Linked DNA regions of Homo sapiens: all the other regions are linked to region 1. Evidence: promoter capture Hi-C in 16 types of primary human blood cells and fetal thymus (Javierre and others, 2016). All regions are on one chromosome and are shown on one strand. The core of a region is centred on a gene start or on the middle of the fragment in contact, and the rest is flanking DNA. Distances in the headings are between cores, read along the strand shown.

Region 1 (2,700 bases), core at 162-2,661:
AGGACTCTGCACATGTTTCCATCATTGCACTTACCTTGGTGCTCTGAACTCCTGCTAAAAAAAAAAATTATTACCTGGACAAATGGCCTACAGAAAAGTGATCGTCTCAGCTGGGCTTAGTTGTGAACAAACACGGATTTGCATTCATATATGCCCAGACTCTGGCCCCAAAAGAACATTTCTGAAATTAAAAAACAAAAAACGAAATTGGTAAGTGGCATTTATACTCTATATCCCATCTGAGCCTGGTATCGATCCTATTACAGACAGATACTGCTGGCTGATGAGGAAGCCCAGATAGGTTAGACAACTTGGCTGTGGACTTCCAGGAAACAGCAGAACTGCAATTCTGACTCCCAGTTCCACAAGGGGCTGTCCCCACTCACGGGGACAGCTAGGCACCGAGCCAAAAATCCCCCAAGTTATTAGCCCGCGCAGGTAACATCAATCCTAGGATCCTCAGCTGTGTCACTTATCAAATACCACACTCGGCCTTCTCCTTGTGGAGCTCTTTTCCCTCAAGGCAGTCACCCCCGTTTCACTTGGGTCGTGCAAATTGCTGGGCACATCCTTAGATCCCCAGAAGTTGGGGAGGACGGACAAAGTCCTGTGGCCAGCAGCAAAAGCTCCAGCCCCTCCAAGTGGGAGAAACAGACTCTCCTCCAAACGAAGGGACCGGCCGGGCGCGGCGGCTCGGAGGATCCCTGGAGCAGCTGAGCTCAGCCTGGGAAACACAGCCAGGCCCTGTCTCTGCAACACATTTTGTTTTTAATTAGCCGGGCGTGGTGACGCGCGCCTATGGTCCCAGTTACTCGGGGGGATGAGGCGGAAGGATCGCTGGAGCCCAGGAAGACGAGGTTGCTGCGAGCCGTGACTGTTCCACTGCACTTCAGCCTGGGTGACAGAGCGAGACCCCGTCTCAAAAAAAAAAAAAAAAGAAAAAAGAAAAAAAAACAAAGGGAGGGACTCCAGGCGAGAGGCAGACGAGCGTGTGGAGGGAACCGACACTTTCCACCCCGAGACCTCCCGCTCAGCCCCAAGGAAACTACGCAGTATCCACACCAAAAACAGCTCACACGAGACCGCAGTGTAGACAACGGAAGGACAGGGGGTCGCAGCGGCCGGGTCCAGCGCGCAGGAAGGCAACAGGCGGCCGCCAGCCGTCGAGGGGTGCTCCCGCCCCCGCACCGAGGGAAGCGGCCGAGCCCGCGCCGACTCTTCCCCCATCCGCCCACCGGGACCTAGGCGCCGCGATGGTTCCCCGAAGCGGCCCTGCAAGCACAAGCCGCGCCTGCGCTCACGCCCGCCCGACCTACGGCCTCCAGCCCGCCGCTACCCTCACCGCTCTCTGGCTGGCGTCGGCCTCTAGCCCACCTCCATACCGGGCCCCGCTCTAGGCCACCAGCGGAAGTGCGGGCCCGCAGCCGCAGCTACCAACCAGCTGTTGCCGCGAGGTAGGCCCCGCCCCCGCGCTGAGTCGGCCGGCCGCAGGCCCCGCCCCGGCCGCTGCTTTCTGGTTTTGGTGCCCCCCAGGGGGCGGGGCATGGGAAGAGCGGCCGCGGTGCACCGCCCACGCCGGGCGCTGGCGTCACGTCCGGGCAGCTGGGGCCCGACCAATCCCGAGTCCCCGTCAGGGTGGACGGGGAGAGTTTGCCGCGGAACCTTGACCTCGGCCCCGCCCGGGGCTTCCTGCGGGTGGGGCGGCTCCGGGATGAGCTCTGCTGCGGGTGGGGTCAGCCCTTACCCGCTGGCCATTTCCGTTCCCTCTTTTTTCTTCTTTTTTCCACGCCTCAGGTGTCTCAGCGGATGTACTACGGTGACGAAGTAATTTTTCTCTTTAGATTTCCTTTAAAGACCTGAAATGTAAATTACATAAACGTGTAATTTCGGAGGAATATGTGTATATCCTTTATATTACAAGAAAGGGAGACCTTAGGTCTTGCGAACAATGCGCGCGATGCGCAACACAGCAGAGTAAATCCCTCGCTGGTGCGGTGGCTCCCGCTTCTAATCCCACCACTTTGGGAGGCCCAGGCGGGAGGCTCGCTTGAGCCCGGAGTTCAGAGACCAGCCTGTGCAACATAGCGAGACACCCGTATGTACAAAAAAAAATTAAAACTCAGCCACCGAGGCCGGGCGCGGTGGCTCACGCCTGTAATCCCAGCACTTTGGGAGGCCGAGGCGGGTGGATCACCTGAGGTCAGGAGTTCGAGACCAGCCTGACCAACATGGTGAAACTCCGTCTCTACTAAAAATAAAAAGATTACCTGGGCGTGGTGGCGGGTGCCTGTAATCCCAGCTACTCAGGAGGCTGAGGCATGAGAATGGCTTGAACCCGGGAGGCAGAGGTTGCAGTGAGCCGAGATCGCACCACTGCACTCCAGCCTGGGCAAAGGAGCGAGACTCTCTCTCCGGAAAAAAAAAAAAAAAAAAAAAAATTAGCACCTGTGGGCCCAGCTTGTTGGGAGGCTGAGGCAGGGGGTGGATATCCATTGAGACCGGGAGATCGAGACTGCAGTGAGCCGTGACTGTGCCACTACACTCCAGGCTGGGGAACAAAGCAAGACCCTGTCTCAGAAAAGTCTATAAATAAATAAAAATGAGTAAAATCCACTGGAAAGCCTATCCCCCCCCTTTTTTGTTTTTGAGATGGAGTCGCGCTCTGTCACCCAAGCTGAAGTGCAGTGGCGCAGTCTCGGC
Region 2 (2,700 bases), core at 162-2,661, 1.2 Mb before region 1:
CCCCTCTGCAAATTAATGCAGTCAGAAAAAAATTTCAAAGCTACTTAAAGATTTCTACTGAAAAGCGGAAGCAAATAGACCTGTCGCCCTCTACAGTCAGACCTACTTCCCAGAGGCAGCTACTGTTGTCTCTGTCTTGTTTTAGTTCTTTTGGGCAGGTTACCTTCCTGATGCTAAATCTTATGCTGTCCCCCTATTTCTTGACAATAGTCTGAAGAATTAACTGACTCCCATAGACTTCCAGTGAACCTTTTTTTTTTAATTGAATATAATTTACATTCAGAAAAACAGATAAATTCTAAGTAGAAAGCTGACTGGCTTTTTCCTGGTTCCTGACTCACACCTCACTCCTGCCCTTTTCTTCCCAGGGCCTCTCTCAGGTTTCACCTAATGTATGCTGTCCTTTGCTACAGGACTGGCCTGCCTGTTTCCAGCTGTTTTCTCCACATTCCATTTTATCTTCATTAGGCTTTCATCTCCTTTTTATTTTCTAGTAATTTCTTAATGGTTCTTGTCCAGTGCTGGTTCTCCATTTTATCATTTTCACTGTTACCATTGTAGTCTTGTTTGTTTTTTTACTGGGAGATTCCTTTACTTGAACCATTCATGTTTAATTCTTTTCTCATTGTTGTCAACAGGCACCTGCTTGTGCCAGAGCGAGAGACACTGTTTAACACCCTAGCCAACAATCGGGAAATCATCAACCAACAGAGGAAGAGGCTGAATCACCTGGTGGATAGTCTTCAGCAGCTCCGCCTTTACAAACAGACTTCCCTGTGGAGCCTGTCCTCGGCTGTTCCTTCCCAGAGCAGCATTCACAGGTGTGGAGAGGACTTGCACTCAATAAATATGGGTGAATGAATGCATGAACATTTAGGGAGTCTTAGAGTGGTTCAGATATGGGTTTGCAAGTGACTCTGTGTCTCTCACCTGTGTAATCCTGGTCAGGGTCCCACCCTCTCTGATCCTTTGTTTCTTTGCCTAAAAAATGAGGATGACAATACCTGCTTCGTGGGATTGTTGGAGAGTTAAATTAAGTCTGTAAAATATTACACTGATGAAATGGGTGCTGAATATATCATAGCAAGTGATACACCATAGTAACAGTGTCATGGTTTGATTGAAAATCAGCTGATAGGATTAAGTTGACTGACTTGTTTCTGAAGCCCAGATTTGCCATTCTGCTTGAATGGGGGGACTTTCAGACCCTGGCAGATTGACAGTTTGCCTTGAGTTTACCAAAATGGTTTTGTGTTTATGCTTTTAGGCCAAATGTATAAATTTTAATTACTTTTTCTACTGAGGCACCATCATGTTGTGTTTGAGGTGGAGATGGTATATAATATGATTGTGATCTCACTTCTTTTAGATTAATTCCATCAGTTGGTCAGATGGCATGTTTATATATTGGGGATATTCTCATGTCTTGCATTTATATTTAAGAGGATAGTGTACCCCCGACAGCCTCCGATCTTTCAGCTCCTAGTTGGTCTGTATCTAACACTGTTCTGTTTCAGTTTTGACAGTGACCTGGAAAGCCTGTGCAATGCTTTGTTGAAAACCACCATAGAATCTCACACCAAATCCTTGCCCAAAGTACCAGGTAATTGCATCCTTCCCAGTCTTTTAACTCCCTTTATTCTCTTCCAAGTACTGATATCTTAAAAACTGAGTCTTAATCATTTATGGGTTTATGGATTTCTTGCAGCCAAACTGTCCCCCATGAAACAGGCACAACTGAGAAACTTCTTGGCCAAGAGGAAGACCCCACCAGTGAGATCCACTGCTCCAGGTAAAGAGAACCAGTAACTGGGCCTGTACATAGTGATAGGGTGTGGTGGGGTGTGTGTGTGTGCGCGCGCACATGCACGTGTGCATGTGTGAGCTAGGGTGCTGTGTATGTGTGTGTAAGTGTGTGTGTGTTGGTTCTTAATAGGGGATAGAGAAAATGTCTCCAGAATCTGTTGTTAATCTGAATAGTGGAATAAGAACCAGCTTATATATACTTGATGAAGCAGCAAAGTAGTCGTTTTGGCTTTTACACTGTTTTCTGCAGTCCTCAAGTTTTATGGCACTGATTCACAAGGGTTTGAGATAGGCTGAGCTGGATCCTAGCCTCTGCTTTAGCCAGAGAAGGTTTACTTTTCTGATTTGTGTTGGGTTTTGAGTAAGTTTGCATCTGGGAAAAAGGCATTTTAAAAAATAAATAAATAATAGAAAAAAATAAAAGACGAGGTCTCCCCATGTTGCCCAGGCTGTTCTCAAACTCCTGGGTTCAAGTTATCCTCCTGCCTCAGCCTCCCAGAGTGCTGGGATTACAGGTATGAGCCACTGTGCCTTGCCGAAAAAGGCTTCTTTTATGAAAAAAGAAGAAAAAAATAAGATTAAGCAATGTTGATTAAAAATACTTACTTAAAAATACTTGCTTAAAGAAGCCATAAATTTTTTTCCCATTACATTACCTAGATAATAACTTCAATTTAAAGAAAAATTTGTGACAATTTTAGGCATAACTGCTTTGTTTTAGTATCCATATCCAAATTTTTCTTTGAGATTCTGTTTTCAGTTAAAATTTTTTTATGCCAATAACAAATGCTTTTGGTAATCAGAATAACTGAAAGAAATTTAATCTTACTGATTTATTTTTCTGTACTCACATAGAGCTAAATTAGATAAATAATAGTCACAGACAAGTTAATT
Region 3 (2,700 bases), core at 82-2,581, 1.2 Mb before region 1:
TTTACCAGCCTGGTCTGTCTTAGGAAGGCACACACTAATCTTTTTTTTAAACATGCATGTACATATTTGCCTTCCCCTACCCTCAAGCTTTATTCTGCAGCCATTACTTTACTTCGGAGATGAAGGAAGGTCAACCAGATGATTTGCATCCAGTCGTTTACCAACAGTTTTCTAAGACCCTATATTATGTGATGTGCATCCAAAAGACATTGTGCTTAATCATGGGGGTTGGTTAAAGAAATGATTGTATAGTCTTACAGTGAAATGCCATGTACCAATTATAAATGTTATATTTATTGACAGGGAAGGAGTGAGTGGAATACATCACCAAAAAAAAAAAAACCACTATTCTTTGTGATCTTTTCTGTATGAGAAAAAACATATACATAGAAAAACAACTTGGAGATGGATTTAAAGTCTAAATGGTGGTTATTTCTGGGTGATGGGAACATGGAGATTTTTGTTTATATTTTCTTGACTTTTTTTCTCCTTTTTGAAACATTTCTTAAGTAATAGATGTTTATTGAAGGAAAATGAGAGCATGCAAAACAATGGCCACAGTCAACATTTTGGTACCTATCCTCCATGAAAATGAATGCACACATATAAATACTAGTCTGTATTTAAACAATTTTTACAGTGACATTTGTATCACTTGTGAAAAGAAACTTTTTTTTTTTTTTTTTTTTGTGGAGACAGGGTCTTACTCTGTTGCCTAGGTTGGAGTGCAGTGGCATGACCACAGCTCACTGTAGCCCTAATCTCCCAGGCTCAGGCAGTCACCTAAGCCTCCCAAGTAGCTGGAACTACAAGCATGCGCCACCATATGCAGCTATTTTTTAAATGTTTTGTAGAGATAGGGTCTTACTGTGTTGCTCAGGCTGGTCTCAAACACCTGGGCTCATGTGATTCTTCTGCTTCAGCCTCCCAAAGTGCTGGGATTATACGCATGATACACTGTGCATGACCAGAAAATATAAAACTTTTAAAAAGAGCATTGTTTCATATGTTGGAATTTGACTAATATTTCTCTTTTTGAATTCTGTGAGTATATAACTGATACAATTTTTTTCTTCTATTATGACCAGTTTCTTACCTAAGCAAAAATGTATGACCAGTTGGTTTGTATAAGGTTAGCAATAACTTAGGGGTATATTCTCTTCCTGCATCCCAGTGCACAGTGAGTTGTATATCACAAATAGAGCCACTCAGATACTTGGGCCCTAACAACTGGCAGCACTACCCCAAGTGATATACCAGATGGCTTGCAGAGTGTTGTATCAGGGTAGTCCATTATTCATAGTGTGTGTACTCTTTGTGTTGTTTTTTTTTCCTCCTTATTCAGCCATGAATAAGGGTACCATGAACTACCTATACCCAGCTGCCTGGTGTGTCTGTAATAAGCAGAGCAGCCTGTGAGATTAGGAGCCTCTGGGATGGGACGAGGTTTGTTTCTGAGCCTTTGCTACTAGCCCATTCAATGCTGGAGCACAATCAGAGGCCAGTTTTACTGTTAGCCTTTCCTAGAGAAACTCCCCTCTTCCTTCACAGTTGGTCCAGAGGTTATAGTTGTGTTCAGATGTGTAGAAGAGAGCCCCTGCGGGGAGAAAGTCCGTCCCATCAGCTAAGTCTAGCTAAAGCCTACTTCATGGGTTCAGAAGACATTAATGGTTCCACCTGTTTCTACACTGCAGTTCTAAGGATGCTGTATTGATCAGAAGTAGTAGTAGCATGATGGTTTTCCAATAATCAGTTCTGTTTTCAGTGGAAAAAATGCTTTTGATTTATTTAGGGTCTGGTATATATTTTTCATGTCAGTTTACCTAATATGCATGAAAGTGTTTTAACATCTATGTATGTCTTTACAGAAGTTAGTTGTAGCTGGTTCCATATCTATTGTATAAAGAAGTATTAACAGAATAGGTTTGCTTGCATTATTATACTTTCATCAATGTGACAGTTTACTTGGATTTTTGTTTTCAGAAAGTGGTATTTTCATACTTGTATCTAAGTATTACGTTGCATTAGACAAAGTGTCTTCCATGAAGATAAACTGCCATCTTAGCTAATTTGGAACAACCAAGTCCTATTAATATAAATAGAAAATATTGACACAAAGAATTCTTTTCTTATTTAGTTGGTTATTTAATTTAAAGATTAATATTTTTACCTTATGGAAAGTTTGGAAAATAGAAAAAAAAATTATTCATTTTTGAGACAGGGGTCTCACTCTGTTGTGCAGGCTGGAGTGTAGTGGCAGGATCTTGGCTCACTGCAGCCTCTGTCTCCCAAGTCCAAGCGATCCTCCCACCTCAGCCTCCCAAGTAGCTGGGACTACAGGCACAAGCCATCACACCTGGCTGATTTTTGTATTTTTTTTGTAGCAACAGGGTCTCACTTTGTTCCCCAGGCTGGTCTCAAACTCCTGGACTCAAAGGGTCCTCCTGCTTTGCCCTCCCAAAGCTCTGGGATTACAGGCATGAGCCACTGCGCCCAGCCTTCCATTGACTTTTTTTTTTCTTTTTAACCATTTGGATTGCATTAAATATCTTTTTCATTTTTTGCATTATGTTTGTAAGCTTTATTCTTAGAAGAGAAATTACTGGGTCTGTTTTTTACAGTTTTTTATACAATGCCAAAATGTTTTCTTAAAAAAAATACTAGTTACCTACCAGTGATAAAAAGTTTCAGGTTTGTTTT

The links. The method cuts DNA at HindIII sites, captures the fragments that hold promoters and counts their contacts. A CHiCAGO score of 5 or more calls a contact.
Region 2: a fragment that was not itself captured here is called in contact with the fragment with the promoter of SETX in region 1 in 1 of 17 cell types (M2 macrophages); the score reaches 5.4 in M2 macrophages.
Region 3: a contact is called between a fragment that was not itself captured here and the fragment with the promoter of SETX in region 1, in 1 of 17 cell types (monocytes). The highest score is 8.4, in monocytes.

Annotation. Positions count from the first base shown.
Region 1 is chr9:132,353,575-132,356,274 of GRCh38, forward strand. SETX (senataxin) reads right to left here and starts at 1,412. Exons shown (of 26, transcript NM_015046.7): 1 at 1,343-1,412; 2 at 75-181. RefSeq lists enhancers at 676-1,177, 997-2,196, 1,178-1,677 and silencers at 1,062-1,271, 1,322-1,711. The HindIII fragment of the contact is 16,783 bases long and covers 1-2,700 here.
Region 2 is chr9:131,162,353-131,165,052 of GRCh38, forward strand. It overlaps NUP214 (nucleoporin 214), which reads left to right. Exons shown (of 36, transcript NM_005085.4): 19 at 639-821; 20 at 1,518-1,603; 21 at 1,709-1,792. Among named protein-coding and RNA genes, the nearest start is that of NUP214, 38 kb to the left of the region's middle. The HindIII fragment of the contact is 3,479 bases long and covers 1-2,700 here.
Region 3 is chr9:131,140,810-131,143,509 of GRCh38, forward strand. The region is part of intron 11 of NUP214 (nucleoporin 214); the gene reads left to right. Among named protein-coding and RNA genes, the nearest start is that of NUP214, 17 kb to the left of the region's middle. The HindIII fragment of the contact is 2,492 bases long and covers 86-2,577 here.